Linked DNA regions of Homo sapiens: all the other regions are linked to region 1. The links are contacts of gene promoters, found by promoter capture Hi-C in blood cells and fetal thymus (Javierre and others, 2016). All regions are on one chromosome and are shown on one strand. The core of a region is centred on a gene start or on the middle of the fragment in contact, and the rest is flanking DNA. Distances in the headings are between cores, read along the strand shown.

Region 1 (2,642 bases), core at 37-2,536:
CCCTGGTGGCATCTATTACAGGTTCTTACGTACTCTTCCAAAGATACTCTGTGCATTTACAAAAATAAGTACAGACATACATATATATTTTCTTCCCACAAATAACACACACAACGTTCTGCACCTAGCTTTTTATTTTTCTTTAGTTAGTATAGGTTGGAAATAGTTTTGTATTAGCAAATAAAGATCATTCTCCTTTTTAAAGGAAGCTGGATAGTAGAGGCAGGCGGATTGCCTAAGCTCAGGAGTTTGAGACCGGCCTGGGCAACATGGTGAAACCCCATCTCTACTAAAAATCAAAAAAAATTAGCGAGGCTGGTGGCGTGGGTCTGTAGTCTCAGCCACTTGGGAGGCTGAGGCACGAGAATCGCTTGAACCCGGGAGGCGGGAGGCGGGAGGCGGGAGGCAGGAGGCGGAGTTTGCAGTGAGCCGAGATCCTGCCACTGCATTCCAGACTGGGCGACAAAGCAAGACTCAAAATGTTTTGATTTTTGTTAATCTGGCTGGTGGAAGATGCTACCCCACATATTTGATTTGCAGTTAAGTGAGCCTGAATATCTTTTCGTGTGCCAGGATAGAATTGCATTTATTTTCCTCTGAATTACGTCTTCATATCTTTTGAGATAGTCTTTTCTTATTTACTTATAAAAGATGGAGTTGACGCTGGCATCAACACACACACACACACACACACACAGACACACAACACACAAGTCCCTGTACATAACTTTATTAACCCAGATATGGAATCTTGGCTTAGTTACGTGCTGTGTGACCTTGGGCAAGTTACTTAACCTCTCTAGGCCACAATGTCCAAGTACCTGGGACAGGGTCTGGCTTACCAACATGGTACAGGACGGCACTTTTAAAACCAGGGACTCGACTTGGACGTGCGAGTCAACAAGGTACAGGACACATTTCTCTCCGGGGAAATCTTGTGTGGGCGCCGAGGCCCGGACGTAGCAACCAAACGTCGGGAAGAGGCGCCAAAAGGATGCTGGGCCTGGCTCCTTGAAGCCCGGGTTTTCCCTTTTGAGAGCCACAACCAAGAAATAAAAATCTAGCAAAGAGGGGGCCACTTTCTGCGGCGAGATACGCCCTCTCGGCCGCTCCTCCAGCTCCCAGGCCCCCTCCCTACTCGACGGTGAGCAGCGCCGCGGCCCGTGCAGCCAGACGCGCGGGGTGCGGCGGGGCCCCGGGGGCCGGGGTGGGGGAGGCGGAGGGTGGGCCCGCGGTCACGTGAGTCGGGCCAGCTGCTGCGGGGGGCGGCGGGCCCCAGCGCCGGGAGTCTGGGTAGGGGGAAGCGCCCGGCGGCCGCCTCCGCCACTGCAGCTGCAGCCCCCGAGGTCGCCGCAGTAATCCGGACCCGGCAGCACCCGCACCCTCGGCGGCCGCAGCCTCAGCACCGCAGAGCGGAGAGCGGAGCCCGGAGCCCGCCGCCCCAGGTGAGCCGCGTCTGGGAGCGCAGGGCGTTTGCAGCGCTGCTTTCCCGGCGGTTTCACCCCACCCGCCATCGCCACCTCCTGCGTTTCATCTCCTCCCGCTGTCCCTCCGAACCCGCGGGTAGCGTTACCCCAGGCCGATTCCCGGTGCTGGCCCGGGCGGGCTGGGAGCCTGGGGGCGGTCAGAGGAGAGGTGGCCTCGGCCTGAAGCCGGGGTGACTCGGCTCGGGGACTGCGGGGGTGCAGTGGAGGGATGCCGGCCCCGGGCTCCCGCACCGCAGCCGGGTTCCCCGCGCTGCTCTTCCTGGGTTTCCTTTTCCTGGCAGCCAACCTGCTGCCCACTGGGATGTGCCTGTGGGCCCCTGGCCTCGCCACCCTGGGGTCTGGGGCGAGCCGGGCACCTTCCCCGAGGTGCCGTACCTGCTGCGCGGGCGGGCGCCGCGAACATGGCTGCCCGGAGACGCCCGCCGCCTTCGGCCCGGCTCTGCCAGCGCGTCCAACTCGCCCGCGGCCGCCGCACCGTGTCCCGGAGCAGCCCTCCCCGCTAGGCCGACGCGCGCGGGCCGCCCCTGGGTTCTCCGCGGGCCGCGCGTGGGACTTGACACAACTTCCCTCGAGCCGCACCCGGGCGTTCTCCGCGGGGCGCCGGGCGGGGCTGCCGAGAGGCCGGCTTGGTCGGCCTCTGCCTCCTCGGCTCGCTCTTGAGGCGTCGAGTATTTGGCGACCTCACTCGCGAGGGCCGAGAGAAATGTGGTCTGCAAAGCAGGAGGGGCGCTTGAACTTTAGAGAATTGGCGAGAACTCGGATTTGGGAATAAAAATGTCCATGAAAACATCGAAGGAAACTGTTACCTGCTTTGACTCAAAGCTGACCTTGTAGGGTTCTGTTAAATAACGTGGCTTTTCTGGATTTTCTGTCTGATTCTAGCATGCAAGTCCTTGACTTACGCTTGCGTCCGGCAGCCGGGTGGGGTGGGTGCGTGCGTGTGTGTGTGCGCGTGTGCGCGTGTTGTGTTCCCAGCCTGGTTAGAAGATGCATCAGTTGCGGAGGAAACCTATGCTAATTCAAAATGGCAGCATGAAAAATAGGCCAGGCGGAAGCAGCACAGACCACAACCATCAGCTGCCCCCTGACTTAAGCCTCAGGGAGGGAATTAGTGTGAGTCAAGGCTCATCCGGGTATGGAGTAGAGAGTGATTCT
Region 2 (2,642 bases), core at 48-2,547, 460 kb before region 1:
CTCCCTTCCTCCCGTTCCAGTGCCTGCAGGGCAGTGGTCCGGCGCGGGAAGACCTCTTCAAGAACAAGGATCACTTCCAGTTCACCAACCTCTTCCTGTGCGGGCTGTTGTCCAAAGCCAAACAGAAACTCCTGCGGCATCTGGTGCCCGCGGCAGCCCTGAGGAGAAAGCGCAAGGCCCTGTGGGCACACCTGTTTTCCAGCCTGCGGGGCTACCTGAAGAGCCTGCCCCGCGTTCAGGTCGAAAGCTTCAACCAGGTGCAGGCCATGCCCACGTTCATCTGGATGCTGCGCTGCATCTACGAGACACAGAGCCAGAAGGTGGGGCAGCTGGCGGCCAGGGGCATCTGCGCCAACTACCTCAAGCTGACCTACTGCAACGCCTGCTCGGCCGACTGCAGCGCCCTCTCCTTCGTCCTGCATCACTTCCCCAAGCGGCTGGCCCTAGACCTAGACAACAACAATCTCAACGACTACGGCGTGCGGGAGCTGCAGCCCTGCTTCAGCCGCCTCACTGTTCTCAGGTGAGGCTGCCAGGCAAGGGGAGCAACAGGTGGGCCGGGCGGGCCAGGCTCGGAGGGCATCGGGAATGGCATCATGGACCAGGATCCCCCAGGACTCATGACCATGGCCCTTGGAATGTCCAGACCTTTTCTTTCTTAGCAGGGCAGAGGTCAAGGTGCAAAGCTTCGAGGCAGGTGGACCTGGATCAGCCACAGCTGGGTGCCCTTGAACAAAGTGCTTAACTCTCAGAGCCTCCACGCCCTCATCTGGAAAAAGAAGATGCTCATAATCCTATCAATTATGGCCACAGGGACCAATGTTAGTTGAGAATGGGTGAAGTGCATTACAAATATTACCTAATGGAATGCTCTTTACAACCCTGTAACTTAGGTACTGTTATTGTCTCTATTTTGGCAGATAAGGAAGTAGAGGCACAGAGAAGTTAATAGCTTGCTTTAGGTCACACAGCTCAGACATAGCAGTGCCAGAATGCATAAAGAACCTTCCTTTTAAGATTAATGTAAGGCTCCGAGATAGCCCTCAAAAAGTTTCTGGAATATGGGAGCTTTTATTACTGCAGAGAAAGCAGACCTTGTGCCAGTTGGCACTGGTGACTTTCTGTGATCAACGCTAGCAGCCCTTCACACTGCTAGAGACCTCAGTTAAAATGCTGACTCGTGGTTGTTTTCCTGTTCCATAGTTTACGGGAAACAGAGCCCAGTCTGTTTTCTTCTATTAGCATTTCCTATGTAAAATAAACCTTGTAAATCTCTACAGGGGGTTAAATTTGCCATTACTTGACTCATGCATTTCTAAAAAGCAGTAGGGATTTGGAACTGACTCCCAGTGCCTGTCACACCAGTGTCAGAGTGTAAATAATTGCATGGGGACATGGGGTGCAGGGGGTCGAAGGCTGCCCTAGCCTGGGAATTGGAAAACCTGGAGTCTGTTCTCTGTACTCTCAGCCAGTGACTCTCCCTCTGTAGCCCCAGGCAGTCTCACACTCAGTGCCACCCTCTGTCCATCTTTTTTTTTTCTCCCCCAAATGGAGTCCCGCTCTGTTGCCCAGGCTGGAGTGCAGTGGCGTGATCTCAGCTCACTGCAACCTCCGCCTCCTGGGTTCAAGCGATTCTCTTGCCCCAGCCTCCTGAGTAGCTGGGATTACAGGCACACGCCACCATGTCCGGCTAAGTTTTTTGTATTTTTAGTAGGACGGGGTTTCCCCATGTTGGCCAGGCTGGTCTTGAAATCCTGACCTCAGGTGATCCGCCCGCCTCGGCCTTCCAAAATGTTGGGGTTACAGGCATGAGCCGCCGCACCCGACCCCTCTGTCCATCTTTTCAATGGGAAACTCCACACCAGTGTGGTGGCCCTGCCCTTCCTGCTGTCCCCAGGTGAAGCTTTCCTTCACACCAGTGCAAGAAAAAACAGCTTGTAGGAAAGCAGAGGATATGGGTAACCACGGGAAGCACACTCAGTTCTCTGGCTGCATCAGTTAGGATTAGTTTTAGCTGAGAGCGAAAACCCCAAATGTTGGTGAGTTACAAGCTTATTTCTCTCATGTAAAAGTCTAGAGGTAGGTAGTTCAGGACTGGTATGGAGTCTCCATGACCCTCCGGAGCCCAGGCTCTCTTCTGCCTTCCTGTTCTGCCATCCTCACTACCCGGCTTTCCCATCTTGGCCCAAGAGGGCTGCTCAAACTCCAGCCATCTAGTCGACACTCTAGCTATCAGTAAGAAGGAAGGGCAAAGATTGAGAGCATGCCTCAATCTTTTAAGAACACTTCTTGGCTATTACTAATTATATTGCTGCTTAGATTTCAGAACTTAATGGTATGGGCAGAATTTAATGAGATGGGCCCAGCTAAAAGATGGGGGAATCTATTGCTAAGAAAGTATAGATATTGGGAATGTCTAGCAGCCTGTGCTGTCTTGGGCTGGCCATGCCATGTACATACACACTATTTCCCAGCACCAAGCTGGGGACTCTGAGGGAAAGGGTCCAGAGTGTCTGACTTGATCATTTTGATGTGGCCTAAAAATCAAGCTTTTAATTGTTCAGCCTTTTACTTGTTATCAAGGTCAGCTTGTGGGTCTAATTGGGCCCAAGGCTTGTGTTTCTAAGTAAAGTTTTATTGGA
Region 3 (2,642 bases), core at 67-2,566, 440 kb before region 1:
GAAATAGGAGCCCAGGTACAGGATTTGCATTAAAAATGAGTCCCATTGACCTTCTGTGGGGCTGACAGGCTGGGCTTGGAGCCTGGCTGTTTTCTGGGTTCTCAGCAAGTGATCATCTGCATAGCTGGAGAGCCTTGGGCTGAGCTCCCGCTCCTGTGAACTCTAAAACAATGTCTGCCAAGTAGGCTCTCTTGAGTAAATACTTCCTTTTTTTTCCTTAGGCTGACCCAAAATGAACTCAACGATGAAGTGGCAGAGAGTTTGGCAGAAATGTTGAAAGTCAACCAGACGTTAAAGCATTTATGGTAACTCAGAGAGCCTTACAATTTCAGACTGTGCTACTTTTCAAAAGTATTTTTTGAGATAAAATTTACATACTGTAAAATTCACTCTCTTAAAGTATACAATTCAGAGGTTTTTAGTGCAACCATCACCACCTAATTCTAGAACATTTTCACTCCTCCTCCCCACTCCAAAAAGCCCTGGTATCCATTAAGCAGTCACTCCCTGTCCTCCTCCCCAGACCCTGGCAACCACTAATCCGCTTTCTGTCTCTATGGATTTGCCTACTCTGGGCATTTCATATAAATGGAATCAAGCAATATGTGACCTTTTGTCTCTGTGTTCTAGCATGTTTCATTCCTTTTTATGGCTAAATGATAATTCACTCTAAGGAAATTTTGCAGTTTATTAATCAGTTGATGGGACATTTGGGTTGTTTCTACTTTTTGACTATTATGCGTAATGCTACTGTGAACACTCCTGTTCATGCTTTTGGGTGAACATATGTTTTCATCTCTTTTGGGAATATACCTGGGAATAGAATTTCTGGGTCATATGGCAATTCTGTAACTTTTTGAGGAGCCACCAAACTGTTTTCTAAAGTGGATGTACTATTTTACATTCTCGCCAGCAATGTATGTGGATTCCAATTTCTCCACATCCTCACCAACACTTATTATTGTCCATCTTTTAAAATCTAGTTATACTAGTGGATGTGAAGTAATATTGTGGTTTTGATTTGCATTTCCCTGATGACAACAATGTTGAATGTCTTTTTATGTGCCTACTGGGAGTCTGTATAGCTTCTTTGGAGAAATGTCTCCATATCCTTTGCCCATTTTAAAATTGGGTTTGTCTTCTAATGCTGAGTTATAGGGGTTCTCTATATATTCTGGGTGCTAGACCTTTACTAGATACAGGTTTTGCAAGTATTTTCTTTCTTTCTGTGGAGTTTTTCCTCTTTCTTGATAGTGACCTTTAAAGGACAACAGTTTTTAATTTTTGTTTTTTTTGAGATGGAGTCTTGCTCTTGTCACCCAGACAGGAGTGCAGTGGCATGATCTCAGCTCTCTGCAACCTCCACCTCCTGGGTTCAAGCGATTCTTCTGCCTCAGCCTCCTGAGTAGTTGGGATTACAGGCATCAGCCACCATGCCTGTCTCATTTTGTATTTTTAATAGAGATGGGGTTTCACCATTTAGGCCCAGGCTGGTCTTGAACTCCTGACCTCAGGTGATCCACCTGCCTCAGCCTCCCAAAGTGCTGGGATTACAGGCGAAAAGCCACTGCACCTGGCCAATAGTTTTTAATTTTGATGAAGTCCAATTTATCTATTTTTTTCTTTGGTTGCTTGTGCTTTCAGTGTCTTATCTAAGAAATGATTGCCTAATCCAAGATCACAAAGAACTCCACCTAAGTTTTCTGTTAAGCGTTATAGTTGTTTCCCCTCACATATAGGTCTGCAATCCATTTTGAGTTAATTTTTGTATAGTGTAAAGTGAGGGTTAACCTCATTCTCTTGCACGTGGATATCCAGCTGTCCCGGCAGCACCACGTGTTGAACAGATTATCTTTTCCTATTGAATGGCCTTGACACCCTTGTCAAAAATCAATTGACCATAAATGTATGGGTTTATTTCTGAATTCTCTGTTCTGGTCCATTGATTTATATGTCTCTCCTATGCCAGGACCATTGCTGTAGCTTTGTGTAGTACATTTTGAAATCAGGAGGTGTGAGTTCTACTTTGTTCTTCTTTCTCAAGATTGTTTAGACCATTCTGGGTTCTTTGCATTTCTTATGAATTCAGACTCACCTTGTCAATTTCTGCAAAAAGACTAGACTCTGCTACATATTGTTTTTTCTTTCCTTTTTAGCCTGCAGAATTATTTGATCCCATTCCCTAAGTGCAGGCCAGCCTCTCCAGGGAGAGCAGAGCTAGGACAGGGTCAGAAAGAGAGTCTTGGCTGCTTTGTGCATTCCCAACCTGCACTGGCCCTAGTGAAGGCAGCCCGAGTGGGTGGATGTGCCTGGACACTGCAGGCTTTTTAGGGGCATTAGGTGCTCTCCTTCCTGGCCTCCTGCCACATCTTGGTTGGAGGCTGCCTTCCCTGCCTTCAAAAAAGCCTAAGTGGTGACTAGAAAACAGCAGAGTGTAACTGAATACAGAACTTGGTGCCCACTTCCTGGTTCTATTTTTGTCCCTTTTGAAAGGGAAGGTCATTACCTCTGCCATTGAACCCAGGGGCCCTAGCCCTTGTGGGGTATGGCTGGGAGCACCAGATCCTGGCTGCAGCCCAGCCACCAGTGGTCCTGTGTGCTTGGGCAGTAACAGTGACAAGAGCTCCCTTCCCCCTGGACAC
Region 4 (2,642 bases), core at 96-2,595, 380 kb before region 1:
ACAAAACAAATCAAAACATAACTAGTTGTGCAGCTCTGGAGAACTTAATAAAAAGTAAATCAACTTTTAAATCAGTTAACTTTGGCGTCTGAATACAAAATGTTTATCAGTATTACCTATGTAGATGACTATTAAGGGATGTGCAGCATTTTCAAAATCCCTGTGTGTCCTTTGTATGCATGTTTGGTACACTGAGTTCTGTGGTCACTGTCCTCTCTTCAGCAGGGTTTTTTTACCCCAGTACGATTGTCCATCTCTGTATTACCAAGTCTCACAAAACTCAGATTTCTGGCTGAGTATGCCTGCGTCTTTGTTTCTCCAGAGACAGATTTTCATATCCTCTTGGTTTTTCAAGCATCTTGTCAAGACAAGAAAACCTGTGTAAAAATAGATTTCCCCATGAACATTGCTTTAGTTACTGTAAGTCTTCATACCCTTACTTACTATTCTGAAAACTCATAAAATCAGTGATCTGGAGAAGAACAGATTAAGAAACAGAAGGATCAATTAAAGTTTAGTCACAAAAAATACATAACAAAGTCATCCCCCTTTCACAATAAGGACTACACGCAAGTAAAGAATGCACACACACGGAGATTTAAAATATTTCTCCCAAATAACTAAAAACCCCAAAATAAGTACAGCAATTTTCTAACTAATCAAGACCACAAATATTCATGTCTCTCTATTTTGGGTTGATTATTAAATTCTTATGCTGAAGGATATCAGAAACGTTGAGCTTTATGGCTACACAGTGCCTTACAAAATGTTTTAACAACACTGAATCCTCCTCAAACCCATATACCTTTAATCTAGGACTATTAAAAGGTATACAAGAATTTATCACTTGATAAATAAGAACAGTCAGGACAGAAGCAAAAATGTACAAGTCAAGATATTCCATGTCTATAAACTCTTAAAAATGACTCTTCAAGACCCACAGAAGCAGACTCCATTGGTTCAGATTTCTGTAGACACCTGATTAACAGAGTTCACCCTGCCCATGTAGTAGGCTAGTTTCAAATTCAGGTTCTATATTCGAAAACAAACAAATAAGCAAATATAACACTCATATGTAACATAAGAAAATGGAAATGTTGTTGAAGACCAACAGACATATGCATTTCAGCTATGAGATGAGATGTATGCTCCACATATCCCATAAGCTCACTGTGACACTAAAGGAAAAATTTAGCTGATGAAAGAAAAAAAATTTATACAATATAATTCCACCTCACCAAAAAAAAAAAAAAAAAAAAAAAAAGCTTATCAGCTCTATGGTCTAAATGTTTGTGTACTCCCAAAATTGCTATGTTAAAACCTAATCTGCAGTGCTATAGTATTAAGAGGTGGGGCCTTTGGGACATGATTAGGTGATGAGGGCTCTGACCACATGAATGCAGTTAGTATCCTTATAGAAGCTTGAGGGAGTCTGTTATCCCACCACGTGAGGACACACAGAAGGTGCCATAAATGAGCAATGAGCCCTCATCAGACACCAGATCTACTGGCTGGAACCTTGATCTTAGACTTCCCAGCTTCCAGAACTGTGAGCACTAAATTTCTGTCATGTATAAATTACTCATCTAAGGTATTTTGTTATAGCAGCCCAAAATGCACTAAGAAAGACTAAAAAGACAAATTTTATCTATAGATGAAGGATTTAGATGTATTACTTTGGCATGTAAAATACTAAGACAAAAATTTCATTTTGTTAGCATCAGTTTCAGTACTTCCCTTAAAATGCTTCTATAATTTTAGCCACAGTTTCGTTTTGTCTCAAACATAAGGTGACAATGAAGGCATTCCAAACCTTTTCTATGGTGAAATAAAAACATATGTGCACATATATTCAAAATACCACTCCACCACTATACTTCTCTTACCTAGCATTCTTACTTCCATTCACATTTTATTTATTTATTTATTTAGACAGGGACTTGCTAAGTCACCCAGGCAGGAGTGCACTGGTGTGTTCATAGCTCACTGCAGCCTCAAACTCCTTATCTCAAGCAATTAGTGTTCAGCCTCAATTCATATTTTAAATGTGTCAAGGCATGATCTAAGTAAGTTCACAGGAAAGGTTAAAATTGGCAGTCTTTTAGTACTCTGCAGTCTACCAAGGCTTCCACATTTCACATGCACATGCGTAGTCTTATGACACTCAACTGCAGTTCTCATTTCAGGTGCTATTGCTGCTATTATCTCAAATCTTCTCTGTCAATATTCTAATCTGCTACTCTTAAATCATCTTCCACCAATACAGCAACAGAATTCCTTGAGGGTGTTTATTACCTCAACACTTTTATTCTCAAATTTAAGAGAAGTTATTGAAATAAAAGGAAATGGTACCACACAGGACTAGACCTCTGGACGTCATCTGGTCTAGTTCCTTGCCATCAGTCTCAGCCTCCTAGAAAAGCCGGCTGTTACTGTCTTGAGTCCCTGAACAAAGAGACTCTCACTCCTGAAACAATTCTAGGATTAGCTAAAATGCTCTGCCTTGATATAACAATCCAATGCTTTATATCATCTCTCCAAGTCTTTTCATAAAAGCTTTTCATATATTTGAAGATAGCAATTAAGTTAACCTTTATTTTTTCAAAGCTAAATGATGTCAATTTAATGCACTTGTGAAATGT
Region 5 (2,642 bases), core at 57-2,556, 320 kb before region 1:
AATATAATCCTTAAGAATTATGTCAAAAATTAATTCAGAACTGAAGGGCTGGTTCTACAAGGATTTTCAAGCTTAGCAGGTAGCATGCCAACTCCTAAGTATTTAAGCCAAGTTTCCTACAACTACCCTAGAACCCAGCGCAACTTTCTTAACACATCTGCAGTTAGTCTGACAAAAGTCATTAACTTTCTTTCCCATTGGGGCTCACCTATGGAAACCACTTTTCATTGGTATGTGTTAGTTACCTTCTTAAAGATACTGCTCTTCATGAAATTCACTCTGCATTATATACTTCCTTAGCTATATTGGGTTTGCTGGTAGTTCGTTTCTACATCCCCCAAATTCACATATGGAAGAATCAAATATAGCATTACAGACTTAAGCATTTATGACTCTTTAGGAATGAAAGGAATTAACATCCTACAGCCTATTTACTATCTATCTTAAAAGTTACTCGTAAAGAAATTACACTCGGGGTAAAATTCTGGGGTTGGTAAAGTGCAGGTTCTTGTGCCGGACCCCTATTGACTCCAAGGGGAATGGCACCAAGTTCAAGAGGCCAAAAACAAGACCCAGAGCCAGCAAACAAAACACGGGGTTTTACTGGAGGCTTACATACAGCGCAGAGAGTACCGCAGCAGTAGACTGGTCAGAAGAATCACCTTACACACAGTCAAGGGGTGGCAGGCTGGACAGAAGAACCACAACAGCTTGGAAAAGGCATGTAGTTTATAAAGCATTTTCAGTTAGCATCCTCCCACTAACAACCTCCACCTGTCAACCTTCTTTCAACCCCAAACTTGGGACCTCGATCCCCTGTACAGCTCATGTTCCACAGGACAGGACAAGACAGGACAGGACAGGACAGGACAGGACAGGGGCTCAGATGTTTCTCCTTAGACAAGGAACGAATCTCCTAATTAGCCACTCTCAGATTCCCTAGCTTGGAACTCACATTCAGTCCTGTATGCCACACAGGGTCATCCTCAAGGTATGCTTAAGAAAATGGCTATCAGGTGCGTTTACCCCACATAGGTCTGCAGGCCAACTGTGGCCTACTGTCAATTTTTGTACAGCCCTTGAGTCAAGAACTTTTTACATTTTTTAATGGCTGAATAAAAATTTTTTAAAAAAGAAAATGCTATGGCATGTGAAAATTATAGGAAATTCAAATTTCAGTGCCCACTAACCAATTTTTATTGAACGTGGCCACACACATTCATTTATGTATTGTCTCTATGGCTTACCCAAACTACAAAAAGAGGGAACAGAGACCAAAAGATCTGCAAAGCCTGAAATATTTACTATCTGGCCCTTTACTAGACATTTGCCAACCCCTGGATTAAGTCTTTAAGAACTGTTCAAAATATCCAAATATTTGTTTCAAAAGAGGAAAGAAAACCATTCTGAAAAAGTTTCGTTATGACAAAAACTCATCTGTAAGCTGCCAGTAAGTTGCATTAAAAAGTTTAGTCTAACCAAAGGGCTAAGGAATAATGAAGATGTTCCAGTCAGGCCAGTGTTACCACTGTTTTCCTGCTGCCACACCTGTTTATTCTCAAGCCATCACCCACCTGGTAGATTTTACCTCCTGAGTATCTGTCAGATTCAACCAATTCTTTAGACATCTACACCACCCTCACAACGTAGCTACTGTTATTTTTTCCTGGACTATGGCAGTAACCTCTCTATGCATCTGCTCTTGACCTCACCCTTCCCCAAACTGTTGTCACAGGCTATCTTCAAAACACCAACCAGACCTGATCACTCCCTGGTTTAAAATACACATAAACAAATACCAACTTTTTATTCATATACAAAGCCATGTATCTTGTTTTCTTCCAACTCCAGCCTCATTTATCTTCCATACCCTAAAACTTTTTACAAATTTTTAATAAATTACATAACATTTTAAAATATATTACATGCTACATATCTATACTTTCCTGATCAGCAAAATTTAGCATTTAACTGAATCACAACAATGCAAAACAAAAATTACCGGGTACCTTTCTGTACTGCTTAATAACAGGTTAGTTTCCTGTACTTTCCTTCTTATCCAACAATTACCAAACATAGTACACACATTCAAAAAATACTCACTGCTTAATTCACTATAAACACTGACTTCCAATGCTCTTAATTCTATTGGAAGTTTAGACGGACATGTGCTGATTCAGGATAGTGAACTCTGCACAATACCACAGCAAAAGGTTGACAGATGTGAAAGTTTGTATGTCTGGGTTTTCAAAGAGTTGCTTCTAAGAGTAAAGAGTCAGGGTGTCTTTTAGCTGTCTACTCCAGTCTTTAACTAGGACATCATCATTATACATGCTGAGTTTTATCAGAGAAGTGATAAATTTCTGAGCACTCTAAACACATTCTTATCCTAAATAATGGTTAAATAATCCCTTTAAGAAATCTAAATTTGACTCTGATTGTTGAAACAGAAAATATTCAGTATAACTATTTGACTAAATACATTAGAAGAGTTCAGAGAATGTTCAAAGTCCCACTCATGATATCCAAATAAAAGCTTATATACTCTGCTTTGCCATTATTTTAGAATTTTTACATGTTTTAATACGAAGCCTATTCTAACTTTTTAAAGTAAAAAGGCCCTCAGTAATAAAGACAATGTC

What was found. Contacts are between HindIII fragments. The CHiCAGO score rates a contact against its expected background, and 5 or more counts as called.
Region 2: a fragment that was not itself captured here is called in contact with the fragment with the promoter of SCRN1 in region 1 in 1 of 17 cell types (neutrophils); the score reaches 5.6 in neutrophils.
Region 3: a fragment that was not itself captured here is called in contact with the fragment with the promoter of SCRN1 in region 1 in 4 of 17 cell types (monocytes, total B cells, naive B cells and 1 more); the score reaches 9.3 in monocytes.
Region 4: a fragment that was not itself captured here is called in contact with the fragment with the promoter of SCRN1 in region 1 in 1 of 17 cell types (total B cells); the score reaches 8.0 in total B cells.
Region 5: a contact is called between a fragment that was not itself captured here and the fragment with the promoter of SCRN1 in region 1, in 1 of 17 cell types (total B cells). The highest score is 5.1, in total B cells.

What each region holds. Positions count from the first base shown.
Region 1 is chr7:29,988,445-29,991,086 of GRCh38, reverse strand. SCRN1 (secernin 1) reads left to right here and starts at 1,286. Exons shown (of 8, transcript NM_014766.5): 1 at 1,286-1,445. FKBP14-AS1 (FKBP14 antisense RNA 1) reads right to left here and starts at 2,431. Exons shown (of 3, transcript NR_187577.1): 1 at 2,294-2,431. RefSeq lists silencers at 1,160-1,499, 1,520-1,569, 1,580-1,849, 1,940-2,059. The HindIII fragment of the contact is 11,019 bases long and covers 1-2,642 here.
Region 2 is chr7:30,449,097-30,451,738 of GRCh38, reverse strand. NOD1 (nucleotide binding oligomerization domain containing 1) reads left to right here. Exons shown (of 14, transcript NM_006092.4): 6 at 1-523. Among named protein-coding and RNA genes, the nearest start is that of NOD1, 28 kb to the left of the region's middle. RefSeq lists an enhancer at 1,713-2,213. The HindIII fragment of the contact is 1,217 bases long and covers 689-1,905 here.
Region 3 is chr7:30,430,759-30,433,400 of GRCh38, reverse strand. NOD1 (nucleotide binding oligomerization domain containing 1) reads left to right here. Exons shown (of 14, transcript NM_006092.4): 12 at 222-305. Among named protein-coding and RNA genes, the nearest start is that of LINC01176, 41 kb to the right of the region's middle. The HindIII fragment of the contact is 3,695 bases long and covers 1-2,642 here.
Region 4 is chr7:30,363,770-30,366,411 of GRCh38, reverse strand. ZNRF2 (zinc and ring finger 2) reads right to left here. Exons shown (of 5, transcript NM_147128.4): 5 at 1-377. Among named protein-coding and RNA genes, the nearest start is that of LINC01176, 26 kb to the left of the region's middle. The HindIII fragment of the contact is 156 bases long and covers 1,268-1,423 here.
Region 5 is chr7:30,309,091-30,311,732 of GRCh38, reverse strand. All of the region lies in intron 1 of ZNRF2 (zinc and ring finger 2), which reads right to left. Among named protein-coding and RNA genes, the nearest start is that of MIR550B1, 21 kb to the right of the region's middle. The HindIII fragment of the contact is 2,465 bases long and covers 74-2,538 here.